Linked DNA regions of Homo sapiens: region 1 is linked to region 2. Evidence: promoter capture Hi-C in human tissues and cell types (Jung and others, 2019). All regions are on one chromosome and are shown on one strand. The core of a region is centred on a gene start or on the middle of the fragment in contact, and the rest is flanking DNA. Distances in the headings are between cores, read along the strand shown.

What was found. The method cuts DNA at HindIII sites, captures the fragments that hold promoters and counts their contacts. A contact is called where the count stands out against the background at its distance.
Region 1: a contact is called between a fragment that was not itself captured here and the fragment with the promoter of RPL13 in region 2, in 17 of the 25 tissues and cell types used here (H1 embryonic stem cells, IMR-90 fibroblasts, adrenal gland and 14 more).

Annotation. Positions count from the first base shown.
Region 1 is chr16:89,301,543-89,305,794 of GRCh38, forward strand. ANKRD11 (ankyrin repeat domain containing 11) reads right to left here. Exons shown (of 13, transcript NM_013275.6): 4 at 3,664-3,802. Among named protein-coding and RNA genes, the nearest start is that of ZNF778, 86 kb to the left of the region's middle. The HindIII fragment of the contact is 5,718 bases long and covers 1-4,252 here.
Region 2 is chr16:89,558,105-89,561,931 of GRCh38, forward strand. RPL13 (ribosomal protein L13) reads left to right here and starts at 2,578. Exons shown (of 6, transcript NM_000977.4): 1 at 2,578-2,608; 2 at 2,836-2,959; 3 at 3,123-3,264; 4 at 3,474-3,647. The coding sequence starts at 2,856. SNORD68 (small nucleolar RNA, C/D box 68) reads left to right here and starts at 3,326; the gene lies at 3,326-3,397. RefSeq lists silencers at 1,020-1,239, 2,781-3,050, 3,111-3,160 and an enhancer at 2,561-2,670. The HindIII fragment of the contact is 11,945 bases long and covers 1-3,827 here.

The DNA of each region.
Region 1 (4,252 bases), core at 755-3,254, 260 kb before region 2:
TTGGGGCCGGGACATGGCAGGTGCCTTCCCACTCCTTGCTGCACCCACAGCCCTTACAGAGGCCTGGTCCTAGGACGGGCTCTTGCCCAGCGCTCTGGAAGACACAGAGGTGATGCTGTCACATGCTCACGTCTGCCTGGACAGCCTCCAGGCTGCTGTGCAGGGACCACGCGGATGCACAGCCTCGGGGACTGCTTTAAACTGGGCTGATTCACAACAGACAGAATCACATTGTTCTTGGCAGGCGGCCCCCAGCCCTGACTAAGCACCGCAGAGGCCACATCTCCATGGCACTGGACCGCGGGCAGGGCCGACTCAACCCTGCATCTGGGAGGCGGGAAGCCATCCCCACAGCAACATGGAGGTCTCTGAGGGAGACGTGCCAGCCTCTGCCACTTGGACACAGCCAAGGCATCCGGCACGGTGGTGACCCTGCATCCCTCCCACCATAGCAAGGGGCACCCACACCCCTCCAGAGAGGCCTGACTGCTGGGGACCAGAGAAGAGTCTCTTGTCTGTCACGTGTCAGTTAACCCTGCACCAATGTTTCTCTTCTCATCCCTGCTGGTGTGCGCCTCTCCCTCCACCCCACTCATTTCTGAGCAAGAACGGCTCCTCTGGGGGAAGGAGGGGACGCGGCGTGTGTGAGAGCCACAGCGCCCAGCAGCCTCCCGGCCCAGGGTGGGGCTGAACGCACTGGAGTTGGACTCGCTACTATTTATTTATTTAGAGACGGAGTCTTGCTCTGTTGCCAGGCTGGAGTGCAATGGCGCAATCTTGGCTCACTGCAACCTCCACCTATTGGGTTCACGCAATTCTCCTGCCTCAGCCTCCCGAGTAGCTGGGATTACAGGCACCCGCCGCCACACCTGGCTAATTTTTGTATTTTTAGTAGCGACAGGGTTTCTTCATGTTGGTCAGGCTGGTCTCGAACTCCTGACCTTGTGATCTGCCCGCCTCGGCCTCCCAAAGTACTGGGATTACAGCCGTGAGCCACCGCGCCTGGCTGTGGACTTGCTACTTTAAGAGGGTCCTGGTTAAAATGCAAGCTTCTAGGATAAGCAACGCTCCACACTCATACATCAGAACAATCTTCCTAGGAAATCTAGTTTTGCAACATTAAACAAGAAGTTATTAAAATTGGCCCCGAAAGGGTGATAAACACAGGAGGACAAATACTACGTTTCTTAGGTCTTTTTGTTACAATCCTTGCCTGGAAAATTCTATTTTCAAAATGTTCTTTACTGTTTTCCCACCTCACAGGGATTCTCACCTACCCTGTCCTCACCTAGGCCTGCCCCTCACAGAGTAAGGACATGGTGTTCAACACGCAGTTCCAGGAGCACCCAGGGCTGTGGCAGAAAATATCCCAGAGACCCACAGAGAGCGAGAATGGCCTCAGTGGGCCAGCACGGCTGGCACCACGCAGGCGCTAACCATCAACAGACAGACCCCGGAAGCTTCTGACAACACAACAGGGCCCTGGGTGAGAGCTTCTCTGCACCATGATGAAACGGCCACCACAAAGAGACCTGAGCAGCCAGATGGGGTGGGCACCAGGTAGCCCTGGGAACGCCACCTTACCAAGTGGGATCATTCTCCCAGGAAGCAGAAGCAGATGCTTGTCTCATTAACCCTTTCAGCAACACCTCCAGAGACATCACAGAAACACCTCAAAGGTCTGAGGCCAACTCCCGCATGGCCACTGTGCAAAGAGCTAACAGCTACGTATCAACATGACGGCCTTCTACAACCAAAACCAGCATGGGGACCAAAGACGGCAAACACAGGGTTTCAGGCCTGGACTGACTTTCTCTAGGCCTAAAGCCCGAGAGTACACAGCACCGCTGGGAGCTCCAGGGAGTCACCCAGGCCCTCCCTTCTGGGGGCTGAGGTCCCTTACACAACCCATCCACACATTCTGTCCACTCACTTCCCCGTGTCTCCCAGTGTTCTTCCTCGGAGCTGTCCGCTGCTGGGAAGAGGAGTCCTCCTGGGCCTGTGCTGGTGTCCCTGCAGCCTTCCTGTCCCCAGATGTGCTGGCCCAGAGACAGGAGCCATGTGCCTGGCACTGCACCTGCCCCTCACTTCCCATCTGGGAAAACCAGCCCTCTCTGCTGGCCTTTCACTCAGCAGAGTCTCCACCTGGCTACTGTGAGCACATCCCTGGAGCACCCCACATAGGACAGGAGGGGCCACAGGCCTGCGGCAGCCACACAATCATAAAGGCTGAAGCTTGCTGAGCTGTGCTGACAAAAGCTGGGGTGTGGATCCTCTTTACTGGCTGTGCCTGCTGCCGTTCCTCTTCAACAATCTCCTTCGTATCACGAGCTCTTCTCACCTGGACCACTTCCCCCATCTGCTCTCAAGCCCGCATCCTGGCACAGCCTCTACGCCTTGTGCTATGGCTGCATTCAAGAAGTCTCAGGAAGCCAGGGACAGAGCCGAGGGCCTGACTCAGCACTCTCCCGGTTCACTCCAGGCTTTGTGGCCAGCTTAGTGCTCTACTGCCTCCAACCTTCCCCAGCAGGGCTGTAGAGAAGCTGGATGACCAGGAGGACAAGGAGGCCTCTGGACACAAGAATCACCAAAGAGCAAGCACGGCCAGCGCAGAGGCCTCTGGGCTCCCTGCAAGCAGCTCAAGACAGAATCCACTGGGAAGGTGTCACTGCAGAAGGCGCTGACCCCACCAGGAGCGTGTGCACATGAACACACATGGGCTTGCACACGGGCACACAGGCATGCACACATGGGCACACAGGCACACACGTACACATGGGCACACACAGGCATGCACACACACACGGGCGCATACACAGGCATGCACATGCACACACATGCAAACGCACACATGGGCATACACACATGAGCGCACATATATACAGGCACACACAGGCACACAAAAGCATACACATACTCAGGCACACATGGGCACACATACACGGGCATAGACGGGCACGCATACACAGGCACACATACAGGCACACACATGGGTACACACAAGCACATACACGGGCACACACATACATGGGTACATACAAGTACATACACACACGGGCACACACACGGGCATACATACAGGCACACACATGAGGGCATGCACACAGATACACGGGCATGTGCACATGGGCACACATACACACAGGCATACACACTTGGGCACACACTCTGGCACAGGCACACAGCACACACATTCCTGCTCTGCAGCCTCAGACCCCGCCTGTGCTTGGGAAGACCTCCCTGCCTCCTGCTCACTTTTAGGGCTCCCTTTGGTTTTTACTACAAGCAATGGAGTTTCTTCCTGTGCCTTTGTGGCCCTGAGGGGAACCACTGTCTCCCTCCCGTGTCCAGCTGTCAGAAGACCCACAGGTGAGCAGCCCCATACCTCGCCCAGGGCTGGACATGCACCGGGTGCATCTCCACGTGTGTGGGACCCAAGAGTGAAGCTCTCCAATCGGCCCCATGGGCCTGAGCCTCGGGTGCAAAGGAGGTGGCATGTGGGGGCCTGTGCTCCGCCCCTGCTGCCTCTTGCCTGGACGGCGTGCAGGGTGCTAGAGTGCGTCCCAGTGCAAAGCCGGAGGTGCGGGGGCCAGGGACGCCCTGCCTGGGCTGCTCCGGGCTGCCTGTGGAGGGCTGACTGCAGGAGGGGCCGCGGGCTGGTACCTGTGTCCGAGTCCTTCTGCTCCCCATTGGCGCCCGCGGTGAAGGGCAGCTTCCGCTTGCTGGCTCGCTCCCTCACCTCCTTCCCGCCATCGCCACGCTCCAGTTTTGGGGTCTTGGTTAGAGAAACTTTATCTTTATCCTAGAAAAGAAAGGGATGCTTTCAGTCGTGATGTCCAAATTACATTCTCAAGCTCTCAAGATTTTGTTTCATATGCCAGGAGAAGCGCATCTCTTATTTGGGCAATGAACACCCTCCCTGCACCCCAGGGCGTGGCTGTGTGAGGCTGGTCACCGACCGCAGAACCTTCACCCAGAAGCCCGGGGTCGGGCTGTGGCTCAGCCCTGACTCTGGCCCATTTCTCATCCTGCGCACCGGAGGGACGCTCAGGAAATCGCTGGTGTGTGTGGAGAAAGCAGAGGAGACACACACGCGCTACCTCTCACTCCGCAGACACGCGCTACCTCCCACTCCGCAGACACGCGCCACCTCCCACTCCGCAGACACGCGCCACCTCCCACTCCGCAGACACGCGCCACCTACCTCCCACTCCGCAGACACGCGCCACCTCCCACTCCGCAGACACGCGCC
Region 2 (3,827 bases), core at 1,328-3,827:
CATCTCTGAGAGATGCCTTGACCTTTGCCCCAGTTCTCCAAATCCAAAGACCAGCACATCGATGGGAGGGTTTTAGCTGGTGTAGCCAAGGGTAGTGTCCTCGGTAATTGTTTTTTTTTTGCTGTTGTGTTGGTTTTTGGCAGAGTCTTGCTCTGTCGCCCAGGCTAGAGTGCAGTGGCGCCATCTCGGCTCACTGCAGCCTCGATCTTCTGGGCTCAAGCAATCCTCCTGACTCAGCCTCCCAAGTAGCTGGGACCGCAGGCACGCACCATTATGCCCGACTAATTTTTGTACTTTTTGTAGAGACAGGGCTAGACTCGAATTTCTGAGTTCAAGTGATCCTCCTGCCTTGGCCTCCCAATGTGTTGGGATTACAGGTGTGAGCCACTGTGCCAAGCCTTTTGTGAAATTAATTTATTATTTTTTAATTATTATTTGTTTTTGGAGATGGAATCTTGCTCTGTAGTCCAGGCTGGAGTGCAGTGGCACGATCTTGGGTCAGTGCAACCTCCGCCTCCCGGGTTCACGCCATTCTCCTGCCTCAGCCTCCCAAGTAGGTGGGACCACAGGCGCCTGCCACCACGCCCGGCTAATTTTTTGTATTTTTAGTAGAGTCGGGGTTTCACCATGTTAGCCAGGATGGTCTCGATCTCCTGACCTCGTGATCTGCCTGCCTTGGGCTCCCAAAATGCTGGGATTACAGGTGTGAGCCAGCACGCCCAGCTCTTAAATTTTTCATTTTTGAGACGGAGGCTTAACTCTGTCACCCAGGCTGGAGTGCAGTGGTGCAGTCTCGACTCACTGTAACCTCTGCCTCCTGGGTTCAAGTGATTCCCCTGTCCTACTCTCTGGAGTAGCTAGGATTACAGGTGTACACAACCACACATGGCTAATTTTTGTATTTTTAGTAGAGGCGGGATTTTGCCATGTTGGCTAGGCCGGTCTCCAACTCCTGACCTCAGGTGATCCACCCGCCTCGGCCTCCCAAAGTGCTGGGATTTACAGGCATGAGCCACCGTGCCTGGCCTGTGAAATACTTTTTTTTCTTTTTGAGACTGAGTCTTGCTCTGTTGCCCAGGCTAGAGTGCAGTAATGTGATCTTGGCTCACTGCAACCTCTGCCTCCCCAGTTCAAGCAATTCTGGTGACTCAGCCTCCTAAGTAGCTAGGATTACAGGCATGCGCCACCACGCCCAGCTTTTTTGTATTTTTAGTAGAGACAGGGTTTCACCATCTTAGCCAGGGTGATCTCAAACTCTTGACCTCGGCTGATCCGCCCACCTCAGCCTCCCAAAGTGCTGGAACTGTGAAATTCTTAAAATGTGGATTACGTTGGCCAGGCACGGTGGCTCACGCCTGTAATCCCAGCACTTTGGGAGGCCCAGGCGGGCGGATCGCGAGGTCAGGAGATCGAGACCATCCTGGCTAACACAGTGAAACCCCGTCTGTACTAAAAATACAAAAAATCAGCTGGGCGTGATGGTGGGCGCCTGTAGTCCCAGCTACTTGGGAGGCAGAGGCAGGAGAATGGCGTGAACCCGGGAGGCAGAACTTGCAGTGAACAGAGATCGCACCACTGAACTCCAGCCTGGGCAACAGAGGGAGACTCCGTCTCAAAAAAAAAAAATAATAATAAGTTTTACCAGGAGGAAGCGTGGTGATTGGGTGAGGGTAGGGAAGAAAGAGGGTTATTGGGATTTAAAGGTTTCCAGGTAGCAGTAAGATGGATGGTGCCTTCACAGACTTATACTAGAGAAGAGATGGCTTTTTGTTGATGCTTTTCTTTGTGAAGGAAGGCAGTAGGCACAGCAGGTCAGAGTGTGACATTTTCAGTCGGGTACCCCTGACCTTAGAGAAGTCACCTAATCCTGGGCCAAGGGAAAGCGACAGAGGCCAACAGTAACTCCGTCTACTAAAATACCAAAAATTAGCAGGGTGTGGCGGCGGGCGCCTGTAATCCCAGCTACTCGGGAGGCTGAGGCAGAATTGCTTGAACCTGGGACGCGGAGGCTGCAGTGAGCCGAGATCGCGCCATTGCACTCCAGCCTGGGCGACGGAGCGAGACTCCGTCTCCAAAAAAAAAAAACAAAAAAAAAAACCACAAATGTTCTAAATGGATGGGAGGAGAATAAACGCTGGAACGACAAGGACGAAGGCCTTAGGTTGCGCAAACTCGGATGTCACTGAAGTTTTTCTGCCTTTGCGCTGCAAACGTGTCTCACAAATGTGAACAAACAGAATTCCTCGGGCGTCGCCCGTTCGCCGTCGGCCCAGATACCGGACTCGCGCGCGTTAGCCCGCAAGACAGGACTCGGCCGCGGCCCGCGCAGCGGCTGAAGCGCCGGGGCAGTAACGGCGGACGTCAAGCAAGTCCGGCCGTCGGTTACTCAGGGCCCAGGAATCACGGCCGCCCCGCCGCATTCTCAGCGGCAACATGTCTGCGACGGCGGCCCTAGGGCTGCCGGGAGAGCCGCGGCGACGTCAGTTCCTCCTTTCGGGGCTCTGATTGGTCAGAGCGCCCGGCGCTTCTGGTTGGCCGGCCCTGCTATCATCCCAGAGTGCATTGCGGGGCCGCTTCCTTTCCGCTCGGCTGTTTTCCTGCGCAGGAGGTGAGGGAGACTGGGTCCTGGCCTTTGGGCATCATCCAGCGCCATCGGCCTGGCGCTTCAGCCAACGCGGGAGTGGATGGGCCCCTTCTTCTTCGCAGACAGCGTTCGGCCGCTGCCCGGGCTCTAGGCGCGGCCGGACGGCCCAGTCTGGAGGGTTCGGGGCGGAGGCCCGGGGGGGTGCGCGCGCCCGGGGTCCGGCCTCTCACTCGCTCCCCTCTCGTCCGCAGCCGCAGGGCCGTAGGCAGCCATGGCGCCCAGCCGGAATGGCATGGTCTTGAAGCCCCACTTCCACAAGGACTGGCAGCGGCGCGTGGCCACGTGGTTCAACCAGCCGGCCCGTAAGATCCGCAGGTGAGCCCTGCGCTCGGGGCTGCCCCTGGGGCTCGTGCCCGCGGCTGCGCCTTGGCTTGCGGGTGGCCGATGCCAGGGCGGGGGGCGCTGTCTGCAACCGTCGCGGAGCGCTGGCCTGGCGGCCTTAGGCAAGGGTGACCGCCGCTGCGCTTCTCTCCACCAGACGTAAGGCCCGGCAAGCCAAGGCGCGCCGCATCGCCCCGCGCCCCGCGTCGGGTCCCATCCGGCCCATCGTGCGCTGCCCCACGGTTCGGTACCACACGAAGGTGCGCGCCGGCCGCGGCTTCAGCCTGGAGGAGCTCAGGGTGAGTACTGGCAGCGCTGCGGTGTCAGGAAGGCCCCGAAGTCCCCTCTGTTGGCCTCAGTCGCGTGATGACATTCTCCGGAATCGCTGTACGGCCTTGATGAAAGCACATTTGAACCCTTTTCCATCTGATTGCTGAGGCTTTTCATCCAGGCCTCGGGGCTGGAGAAAGCCCGGGCCTGTCTCCATCTCTCTCTGGTTCTGGGGCAGGTGGCCGGCATTCACAAGAAGGTGGCCCGGACCATCGGCATTTCTGTGGATCCGAGGAGGCGGAACAAGTCCACGGAGTCCCTGCAGGCCAACGTGCAGCGGCTGAAGGAGTACCGCTCCAAACTCATCCTCTTCCCCAGGAAGCCCTCGGCCCCCAAGAAGGGAGACAGTTCTGTGAGTACACGGCTCTCTGGCCGTCCTGGTGCGCGGGGACAGTGAGGCTTGGCTCCTTTATCAGTGACACCGGTCCCTGGGTCTTGCTGGGGTGAGAAGAACCAAAACATTGTGGGTGATGAGCTAAGCGGGACTGCTAAGGTTCACCTGTGCGTTTCCGCAGAGATAACCTTAATGGAC